2 separate regions of the Homo sapiens genome follow, and region 1 is linked to region 2. Evidence: promoter capture Hi-C in 16 types of primary human blood cells and fetal thymus (Javierre and others, 2016). All regions are on one chromosome and are shown on one strand. The core of a region is centred on a gene start or on the middle of the fragment in contact, and the rest is flanking DNA. Distances in the headings are between cores, read along the strand shown. Region 1 overlaps GCSIR (GPR55 cis regulatory suppressor of immune response RNA). Region 2 holds the start of C2orf72 (chromosome 2 open reading frame 72).

Region 1 (5,766 bases), core at 2,744-5,243, 140 kb before region 2:
CACACGGTCCCCCGCTCCTTGGGGTCTTGGGTGCACGGCAGGTGCAAACACCCCACACCACGTGCCCCGAGGCTGGGAGCCGTGAAGACACCCCCCACCACTTCCACTTCCGTTTCTGCACAGAAGGTGGTGTCACAGTTTTCCAAACTGTTAAGAGAATTTCTTTTGTGCATGACATTGTTCAGCTCACCCAGGCTGCAGCCTGGGACGGAACCAAAACAGAAGTGAGTAAGGAGAAGTGAGTCAGTCATGCATTCAACACATATTCTTGAGCCCCGTTATGTTCCGGGCCCTGTTGGGGACTGGGGACAGAGAGGAGCAGCATGCTGCCCCTGTCCTCTAGGAGCTCACAGACCTGCTATCCCCAAGATGGGCCACACTCTTCTGCCTCTTTGTCTGGGTAGACCTGATGTCTAGACCAAGACATAAAACGGGCTTTTGGAGCATTGCTGCGGAGCCTGCAGGGTGGTGGGCCTTGGGCAGGGTGGTGGGCCCTGGGCTGTGTGCTGGGCATGGAAAGGCGAACAAGAAACGAACCCTACTCTCGCAAGGCTGATGGTCTAGTCGGGTAGAAGAAGAAACTGGAAGTTATTGGACAGTGCGCTAAGTGTTAGGATGGGGGAGTTCCAGGGCACTGTGGGGACAGGTATACCCAGACCAACCAAGCAAACAAGGGGACTTATGTGTTTAATTCATATTAAATGTCATACTAGGCCGGGCGTGGTGGCTCACACCTGTAATCCCAGAACTTTGGGAGTCCAAGATGGGTGGATCACAAGGTCAGGAGTTCAAGATCAGCCTGGCCAAGATGGTGAAACCCCGTCTCTACTAAAAATACAAAAAATTAGCTGGGTGTGGGACAGGCGCCTGTAATCCCAGCTACTCGGGAGGCTGAGGCAGTGAATTGCTTGAACCTGGGAGGCAGAGGTTGCAGTGAGCCGAGATAGAGCCACTGCACTCCAGCCTGGGTGACAGAGGGAGACTCCATCTCAAAATAAAGAAATAAATAAGTAAATAAATAAATAAATGTCATACTGTGCCACCAAGGCCAATGTCTTCACAGGTTTTTTGACCTTGGCAATGTTCCCGTCAGACTGCAGAAGAATTGACTATTCCCGTTCAGGTAGATGATGACCGGCCCCATAAACAGCCACCAAGGGTCACCCTCTCCCTCCCCAGCCCTGAAGGCCAAGAAATGGGACTGGGCTCCTTGGATTTATGACCTTCTGGCTCCTGCAGAGAGAGGAGGACTGGGGCTTGACAAGGACACGGTAAGCTGGACAGACTCCTGCACGGTGTAGGCTTGAGGCCACATTCCTCGTCCCTCTCTGGCTGGGGGCTGGGGCTGGGTGGACATGGTTCCTCCGTGATGTTCTGCCACCCAGCAGCTTGCCACCCTCTCCAGGTCCTTTGGCAAAATTTCAAACCACGCTGATTGACCTTGGAGCTCCACCCACATCCACACCCTTGGCTGTGTCAGAAACTCCACTACAGGCAAGAAAACAAGGGAACTGGGGTTTATGACTTCTGTTCAGCTTCATTAAATATTTGCTGAGCAACTTTTAGAGGAGTTTTCTGGATTCCACAGAGGGGACTAACTAATTCCACCTCTTCCTTTTAGCAGGGGCTAAGGACTGTCCTTGGATCTCAGTAGGACAGCTGACCTTCCCTCCACCCAATGACTGCTCCAGTCTGATCGTTCCTGGCCACCTGATAATCTCTTTGTGCAAACACCAGGAAGCCCTGGTTAGAGGTGTGGACACCAGGTGTTCTTGAGGAGGACAGTGGTGACTCAGTTTTATCTGACCCCATGCTCTCAAGTTCCTTTTCTGTGAGACACTTCTTATGTGCTACTTTGGACCCTCTCACTTATCTGTGGGCCATTGGCCACTGGCCCCAGCCACAGCTGAGACCACCAACTCTGCATGGACTCAGACAGGCTTCACCCAGGCACACCCAGCAGCCCCTGCCTCAGGTCCCAGCTATGCACCCCTTAGGCTTGCCTGGATACTAGGATGGGAGACACTGCATCCATCCATCCACGACCAGCAAGTAGAGGCAATTAATACCCTTCAGGCGACCCAACGCGAGCTGGGAGCCTGTGCACAAATTATTCTCCTTTTCTCCCAAAAGGATTGTGCCGAGAAACATTTGTGCAGCTTCCCGGAGGATGGCCCTTGGGGTCGAGCAAGCAGTTATGTTTGTTACCAAGCCTCGGCCAGCTCCATAACACACCCTGGAGTTGGCACCACTTCCTTCCCAGCTACACTCCCCTTTCTCTCACACCTGCTCCCTGGGGTCACCTCCCTACCAAAGGAGGGGCACAGGAGCCTTTGTTTCCCGCTCTGCTTTCCAAGAAACCCAAACCAAGCCATGCTGAGTTCCTTCCAGAGCTCCACTTCCACTTCACGGGATCCTCTTAGTACCACAGTCAGCACCCAACATGCCTCTGAGATGGGCGTGTGATCCTGACTGGCCAGTCGGCGCCTTATTTCTCTGGCCACAGAACTTGGCTCAGGAGATGACATGTGACCAATCCGAATTTTCCCTGGGGACTGATACGTGGACACCAGGGACCTCGTGCACCAGTAAGGTCGCTGCCTTCCTTCTCTGCCAGAGATGATTCTGTCTCATCCAATCAAGACTTGAGTGGACTCCAGCTTCCCAGAAAGCCTTTCTCCATCATCCCAGCCCCACGAGATCTTACCCGCTTCACTGGTAACACCCAGAATCCTCAGCACAACTGCTACCACCAGGTACTGCCTTGCTCCTTTACACTGTTATGTTGTTTGAATCTGTTATGCAGCTGATTATGTGTATTCCTATTTCTACTAGGCACACATGGTTCTACCTGGCTAACTACAGTGGATTCATTGCCCAAATGAGGTAGGCAGCTGCTTCAACATATAGAGAGGCCAGGTATCCAATATAAGGAACCACATTATCCCAGTTTGCCTGGAACTTTCCAAGCTTTAACACTGAGTAGCCTTGGTCTCCCTCAGTCCTGGACAGACTGGGACATTTGGTCACCTTGTTCAATGAGCAGGAGCAGGAGGAGAGTGTTGTCTAGGAGAAGCCCCCTTTTATTTATTTCCCTTCTGAGACAGGGTCTCGCTCTGTCACCCAGGTTGGGGTCCAGTGGCAGGATCACAGCTCATTGCAGCCTCAACCTCCCGAGCTCATGCAATCCTCCCACCTCAGCCCCCCAAGTAGCTGGGATGACAAGCACACCACCACACCCAGTTATTATTATTATTATTATTATTTTTAATAGAGACAAGGTCTCACTACATTGCCCAGGCTGGTCTCAAACTCCTGAGCTCACGCGATCCTACCACCTTGGCCTCCCAAAGTGCTTACAGGTGTGAGTCACTGCACCCGGCCGGGAAGCCTCTTTTTAAAGTAAAGGACATAGACTGCACAGATTCAGCCCAGACTCCATCTATTTATCTATTTAATTGAGCTCCTACAATTTATTGAGCTTCTACTATGTGTCTGACACTCTGCTAAGTTCTGAAGATCCAGAGATGAACAAGACCTAGTCCCTTCCCTGAAGAGTTTATAGTTCAGAGCAGGCATTAGGGAAATTTTTTGCAAAGGGCTAGATTACAAGTGTTTTCAGTTTTACAAACCATACAGTCTCTGTCATAACTACCGTGGTCTGCTGTAGCTCCAAAGCAGCCACTGCAGACAGTGTGAATGGACATGACTGTGTCCCCACAAGACTTGAAGGGCAGCAGCCTCCTGGCACAGAGGTGGAGAAAAACACACAAAGCCTCAGAGCACCTGCCAGGCCCCTGCTGAAGGTAGCAGCTCCAGGCGGCCCCATAGGCGGCATCTCACATGGCCCCATCTCCTCCGCCGTGGTTGACTGGACCAGGGAGGAGCACGTGATTCACAGGTAGCCCATCCTCAGGCTGCCAGTGATGGACACGGGTGGAGAGGCCAGCAGAGATAGTGGCCGCCAGCTGGGACAACGGTGGTAGGAGACAGAGACCGAAAGGCAGGAAGGATAGAGCAGAGCCAATAGACTTCCCTGGACCCTCAAGCCCTTCCAAACCTGAGCCGTGTTCCAGGCCCCATGGGGACCTCCCGGGAGGTCTTGCTGTGAGCCTGTCCTGGGACCCGGGCAGGCTTGCACGGAGCTGAGAGTCCTGTCTTCTTTATTTCCATGTACATCCTTCAACAAAACAGCTTTTGCTTCCTTCTTTCTTGTTTAACAATTCAGTAATTTTTAGAAAATTTATAAAGTTGTGCAACCATGCAACCATCACTGTCACCCAGCTTCCATAATAAACCTGAATGAGCTCCCTGCACTCAAGAGACCCTCACTCACCCCAGTTCCTTGTGGAAAGTTAGGGTGCCATGGGATCACAGAGGAGGGACCCCCAGCTGGGGCCAGGGGCTCCGAGAAGTCTTCCCAGAGAGACCCAAGGACAGTCAGAGAATTCCTGGGATGATGTGGGGAAGGGGGATCCCCATCACCTCTTTGACCTTTAGTGGGCAGCAAGGGCCAACATCTGACCAGGTGCCTCGTGCAGCAGGCATGGTGTAGACAGAACACTTTGTCAGATGCCGATGAATCAAGCAGCTTTCCTTTTCCTCCATACCCTCCATGCCCTCCTGTGGCAGCCTCAGTCCACCCCAGCGTCCTTAGACAGGGCCTTGCAGGCCAGGGCACACTGCAGGAAAGGGAAGAATCTGCACGTGGCTCCCTGGGGCCGTCGATGATGGGCTTTGCTGCCTGCACCACCCGAGTTTTCATCCAAGAAAACACCCTAACCTGGTATTTCCCAAGGAATTCAAGTGAAATTGTCAAAAGGGCTTACATCCCTGTTTTAAGGCTGTGGAAGAGGTCTGGCCATACAATCTCCCTCTCCCTTTCCCCTTCACCCCCAGGAAAGAGAGAATCTCCAAGCACCCATACCCAGGGCCTCTGTCTTCCCACTCCCCTCTCCCATCTCCCCATAAGGAGCCTTTCTCTTGCTGAAGCAGGAAACTTCATTTTGCTAACAGGAAGCTTCTTTGTTCCCTGCAAGAGAAACCAGCTCCAGCTAATTCAAGCAAAAGAAGGCTCTTCGCAGGGATGTGGAGCAGCTCACAGTTGCAAAGAGGTTGCTGAGCAACGTGCACTGCCTGGAGGTGACTGCAGCGGCCCTGGGCTTCCCTGGGCTCCCCCGCTGGCAGACAGAATCTGACAGCACGGTTTGGTGCAAGGGTCCCTGGCCTTGGTCCTTTGGATCACTCAGTGACAGGGAACAGGAGCCAGTCTGCTTCCCTATCCCATTAGAAGGATCTGGATTTGCTCCATTCACCCAGACCTGGGTTTCACCAGGAACTAGGGGTGTACATCATCTATGCCCAAACCCAGGGCACCCCTGAGTATACGGCATTTCCCAGTGGGCCATTAAGAAGATGCGCATACAGAAGAGATTGTTTTTCCAAGTGAGAAGATCCAGCTTGAATATACAAACTATTAGGGTTGTGCATGTAATTGTTTAAATGTCTCCTGTAGGAGTTAATGCATTTGGTTTTCAAGACATCTTTTAATTCCACAGAAGGTAACTCCTTTCCACTTTCACATTTCATGGAACATTTTTTCATCTCAACCTGTCACCAGCATCTTGAGTGTCTGTCTCCTCATCACCCCTGAGCCACGGTTTGAGTCACCGGTGACTTTCAGGGTACGTCACCTCCGTCTCCTCTCAGTTACAGAGATTCAGCACTTTTTAAATCCCCACATGATGCTATCACTGGAAATTGTAT
Region 2 (5,531 bases), core at 3,028-5,527:
AACAAACCTTCACCAGACCCCTAAAGTTCAGGCGAAATTGAGATATTTGACCCCCATAAGAACACCAGCTGGCACAGAGATCTGCATTCCTGGTGCCCTCATGGGAACCAGCCTGGGCCTGGCAGAGGAGGAAACGAAGTCCCAGCACACCAGCGAGCAGGCCTGCTCCACCTCAGGGGCACCCAGCACTTGTTAGACCCAGTTTCAAGTTTCCAGCCCCTCTTCCCACCTCAGCCTCTTTCCTCCGTGGGTCCTGGGGGCTCCTCCAATTTCCTTTCCCTCTGAGGTCTTCCTCATGTTAAAGATCTTCCTCCCTCCACCCAGCTCCCCAGGAAGCCAGAAAGTCTCCCCAGGTCCAGCCTTCCTTTTAGCCCCCAAATCAAACATCTTAGGGAAAAAGCGGAAAAGTACAGGGAGAGAAGAGAGGAAGGAAAGGAAAGAAGAGAGAAAGGGGGAGGTGGGGAGAGGGGAAGCGGGGAAAGGAAGAAAGAAGGAGAGGAGAATAGGGTGACAGAGTGTGAGTAAAGAGGGAAAAGGAGCTGGCAAGCAACTAGAGGGAGATTACTCCTTGTTTTCCAAACCAACACTTTCTGGTCACTTTTTTTTTTTTTTTTTTTTTTTTGAGACAAGTCCTTGATCTCTCACCCAGGCTGGAGTGCAGTGGCACAATCACGGCTCACTGCAGCCTCGACCTCTCGGGCTCAAGCCATCCACCCACCCCAACCTCCCAAGGAGTAACTGTGACTAGATACACACTGCCATACCCAACTAGCTGTTTGATTTTTGTTTGTTTGTTTATTTAGGGATGGGGTCTCGCTATGATGCCCAGGCTGGTCTAAAACTCCTGGGCTCAAGAAATCCTTCCACCTCAGTTTCCCAAAGTACCGGGATTACAGGTGTGAGCCACCACACCAGTCTCTTATCACTTGATTCCCACCAAATTCTGTTTAAATGAACATGAAGAGGTAAAGTATTTCAAAAATCCCAGTTTACTTTATATCTTCATTGAACACCAGAGAAAGAAGAAGTCCATTAATTTTATGATGTTTTTCTAAGGTGCGGTGGGAGAGGAGGAAGAAATATTCTTGGCATCTTGCCTTTTTTTAAAAAAAAAAAAAAGATCTTTGCAGTTTCCTGTTAATTTAATACCAGAACCTTTGCTGTGTAAATAACACAGATAAAGATAAACTTTACTGGCCCTGGACTCCAACCTTCGTTTAACATTCCACCCCCCTCTGATCCATCCCGCATCCCGCCTATGGAAATTTGTAATTAGTTGTGGAGATTTAGAGGCTGAGAATATATAGTTCAGGAGGCAGAGCATGTTGGTTTTAGACAAGCCTTGTAAGAATGTGCTAAAAATCCCAGTATACCTGACAGTGCTTCTCTAGAACTTGTCTTTCTCTCTTCCTCAGAGGTGACCTGGATGGGGTTAATTCCCTTTCTGGTCAACTTGTAGGTTTCACCCTGGCTCTGCCACCCACCCTCCCAGTTTATTATACCCACTTAGGCTGTGCTTTGCTGGCATGGCCTTGCACTGTTATTTAGACAAGTGATTTAATCCCTCTTACTTGCTATTATTGAGCACTCTTAGTTCCTCTTTTTTTTTTTTTTTTTTTAAGATAGTCTCACTCTGTCACCCAGGCTGGAGTACACTGGTATAATCTTGGCTCACCGCAACCTCCGTCTCCTGGGTTCAAGCGAGTCTCCTGCCTCAGCCTCCCAAGTAGCTGGGATTACAGGCACACACCACCATGCCCAGCTAATTTTTGTATTTTTATTGGAGACGGGGTTTCACCATTTTGGCCAGGCTGGTCTTGAACTCCTGACTTCAGATGATCTGCCAGCCTCAGTCTACAAAGTGCTGGGGTAACAGGAGTGAGCCACCATGCCCAGCCAGATTTAGTTCCCTTTTTGATAGGGCACTTCCTCCAATAGTGTTTTCAAAGAGGGGCTATATGTGATACGCCTTCTGATTCTTTATATACCTGATAATTTAGCTAGAAATCCAAATCTAGGGTCAAAGTTATTTTTCTTTGATACTTTAAAACAATTTTTCCATTTTTTCTTAAACCCAATGTTGTTGCTAAGAAATCTGAAGTCAACCAGATTTTTGTTCCTTCCTCAGTCCTTCTACTACCCAGCTTCTGGGAATACAGGTGTGATGGCCCAAGCTTTAGCAGCCAATTTGGATTATGAAGATGTCAGAGGGCAATAGTGACTTGGTATGAAATCTGAGTCTTCAAACACCTAGTAAAGCAGAACTATTATACTATTTCAGCCATAAACTGTCCATCCCCAAACGTCTACAAAAGAGAAAAAGAAATTTTCATTGTTATTAGTGTTGTCTGTGTTATTAAGAAATGAATCTTAATTCATATATCCATTAAACCTGCTTTGTTTTATACTTTCCAGAAGCCTAACTGTTTTTTATTTTTTATTTTATTTTATTCATTTATTTATTTTTTGAGACAGAGTTTCGCTCTTGATGCCCAGGCTGGAGTGCAATGGCACGATCTCAGCTCACCAAAACCTCCACCTCCTGGGTTCAAGCCATTCTCCTGCCTTAGCCTCCCAAGTAGCTGGGACTACAGGCATGCACCACCATGCCTGGCTAATTTTGTATTTTTAGTAGAGACTGGGTTTCTCCATGTTGGTCAGGCTGGCCTCCAATCCCCGACCTCAGGTGATCCACCTGCCTTGGCCTCCCAAAGTGCTGGGATTACAGACACAAGCCACAGCGCCCGGCCCCAGAAGTCTAATTATTTTTCCCAGTGAATTCATGTTTCCCTAGATATCAGCTACTTTGGTTGGCGATAGGTACACCTGGAAGAGACTAAAACCTAGGCTCTTCCTATATATCCCACCTGGGAGCTTAAGGAATGGGGGTGTGATGGGACTTGCCTCTGGCATCAAATGTGAATGTAGCCACTCCCCATGTGCCACCCTCACACACACCAGACACCCCACTCAGGGAGCTTCTGGGCACTCTCCCCTGGCCAATCCTCTTTCATGAGGCAGGTCTCGTGGTTGGAATTCCTGACCCATGAAGTGGGAAGAAGAGGCTGCCGGGTCTGGTTTTTCTGTGCTGCTAGCCCCAGCCTGATATGCCATCCCTGGCTAGCACAGCTGTTTTCTGCCTCCCAGCAGTGCTGGGGAGATGGGGTTGAGAAATGGTCTACTCAGGCCAATGCAAGCAAAGAAAAGAGCACAAGTGTATAGCGTTCACTCAGCCTATCCCCCTTCTATGGCACTGAGGGGAGGAGGCGACAGGCCTTCCCTGGTTTTACATTGGTTTCTCAGAGTCCTTACCAACTCCCCTCTTGCTTCTGCGGCGTCTTTAGGGTACTATTCAGAGAAAGGTGCCAGCCCTTTAAGTACATTATCATCTTGTCACTTTCTGCTTTAATTTTACATTTCATTACAAATTACGTGAAATGTAATACTCAGTTCTTCAGTTGCACTCGCCAGATTTCAGGTACTCAATAATAGTCACATATGGTGCAGACAATAAAAAAGTTTTCCATCATCACAGAATGTTCTATTGGACAAGGCTGACCTAGATCCTTAGAAGGAAGGGAAATGCATTCCTGCTTCTGACCTGGCTGGCCCCTTGCTCCCCACGCAGATCAGAGCACCATCCGTGTCCTGCATCTGGCCCCCTAGACTTTCTGCTTTACGGAAACAGTCTGGGTTTCAACCCCAGCGCCTGGGGTGGTACAATAAGTATTTGTGGAAATAATGGACCCTCGGTCAGTTTTTGCTAAATGTTGAAGCCCAAAAGGAAAGCTGGGTGGCAGAAATAACCCCTGCGTGTTCTCTTTTATCTCACCTTCCTACCCACTTCTGCGCCCTCCGCCCCCTACCCCCCTACCTCCCACCCCACCTCGGCAAGACCCCAAACTGTGCAGGACTCTGCTCCAGGTCTCCAAACGATCTTATCTAGTGAGGGGATAATTGTCTGTCTTCCCAACCTCGGCTGCCCAGCGCCTGCACATAGTAGGTGCGCAGTAAGTATGTGTGGGATGGACGAACAAATGAATGAATGAATGACTCTCTGTTTCCCCGCGTCTGCGCAGGGACTTCGGGAGGAGCCACCCTTGGAGGGCTGAGGAGAAAGCCCTCTTCCTCCCACCCGGGCCCGCGATGCGGGCTGCGCCCAGGGGCGCGTGCACACAGAGGCCCCGCCCGGGGGCCCGGGGGTCCGGCTGGGCTCGGCCCTCGGGGGCGTGTCCTCTGTGCCGGGGCGCCACCGCCCCGAGAGGCGGGCAGCGGGTGCGCCCGGGCCGCGGCGGCCGCAGAGGGCGGGCGGCGGCCAGCATGGAGCGCGAGCTGGAGGCGCTGGCGGCCCGGCTTGCGCGCCCTGCCGAGCCGCCCTTCCAGGCGTTGGTGGAAGCGGCGGGGGGCCGCGGGCAGGTGCTGCTGGTGGGCGAGCTGTGGGAGCGCGAACAGAGCCGCGCGCTGCTGCGGGACTTCGCACGGGCGGTGTTCCCGCCGGAGCCAGGCGCGGCCAAGCCGGGCGGCGCGGCGGCAGAGGGCGCGGGGCCCGGGGCGGCGCGCGGGGCGCAGAGGGCGGCGAGGGCGGCTGGGGCGGCGGGGGCGGCGGCGGCGGCGGCGCGCGCCATCCGCTCGCCGCTGGTCTTCGTGCTGTGCCGCGCGTCGTCGCTGGCCGCCCGGGAGCCGCGGCGCCGCCTGCGGGAGATGCTGCGGGACGTGCGCGGCCGGCGGCGGGCCGGGGCGGCGCTGGTCGGGGTGCTGGTGGCCGAGGCCGGGCCAGAGGACGCGGTGGCGCCGGGGCTGCGGCTGCTGGAGGCGCTGTTGCGCGCCGTGTTCGGCCGCCAGGCGGGGGGGCCCGTGCAGGCGGCCGCCTACTGCCCCGGCCTCCCGGCCTCCTGCCTGGCCGTCCAGGCGGCCGCCTGCAGGGCCCTGCAAGCCGCCGGAGCCGGGCAACCAGGTGAGACTGCGCGGGGCCCGGCTGGGCGCGGGCGGGCGGTGGCTCGGGCACGTCCCCCAAGTTGGACCCCTTTGGCCATTCCCTTATTGAGCACCGAGGTAAACTGAGGCTCAGAGCAGGGAGGTGCCTAGAGCCAGGCCTCGCAGCTAGCGGAGAGCGGGCCGTGCGTAGCGGATCGAGTCTGTCCCGGAAGGGTCCGGAGTGCACGGGAGATGCCTAGGGGGCGTGGGAAAGCTGAGGGGCCGAGTAGAAGGCAGAGGGAGTGGGTAGAGAGAAGGGATGAATCGGGCAAGGCCGAGATCTAGGAGTTACGGGGTGGGTGGGGGTGGGGAGAGAAGAGGAGTGGGGAAGGAAATGGGAAAGCCTTGGGATGGGAAAGTTTCAAGGGGGTGGATGGGTGCTAAGGAGATTGGCGGTGCCAGAAGCTAAATTCTAGGGCGCTGCGCAGCCAGAGATGCGTCGGGAGCTCTAGGAGGGGCGGAGGGGCATCTCCAGCGCGGTGGAGGCTCGTCCTGGAAGCCCTGCCTGGTTTTAGGAAGAGGGCAAGGAATGGGTGCTCGGGACTTGACGTGTGGGG

The links. Contacts are between HindIII fragments. The CHiCAGO score rates a contact against its expected background, and 5 or more counts as called.
Region 1: a fragment that was not itself captured here is called in contact with the fragment with the promoter of C2orf72 in region 2 in 3 of 17 cell types (M0 macrophages, M1 macrophages and M2 macrophages); the score reaches 6.1 in M0 macrophages.

Annotation. Positions count from the first base shown.
Region 1 is chr2:230,894,335-230,900,100 of GRCh38, forward strand. It overlaps GCSIR (GPR55 cis regulatory suppressor of immune response RNA), which reads left to right. Exons shown (of 4, transcript NR_038238.1): 2 at 1,064-1,271; 3 at 1,625-2,756. Among named protein-coding and RNA genes, the nearest start is that of GCSIR, 11 kb to the left of the region's middle. The HindIII fragment of the contact is 2,050 bases long and covers 2,969-5,018 here.
Region 2 is chr2:231,033,246-231,038,776 of GRCh38, forward strand. It overlaps C2orf72 (chromosome 2 open reading frame 72), which reads left to right and starts at 4,278. Exons shown (of 3, transcript NM_001144994.2): 1 at 4,278-4,954. The coding sequence starts at 4,321. The HindIII fragment of the contact is 4,632 bases long and covers 2,173-5,531 here.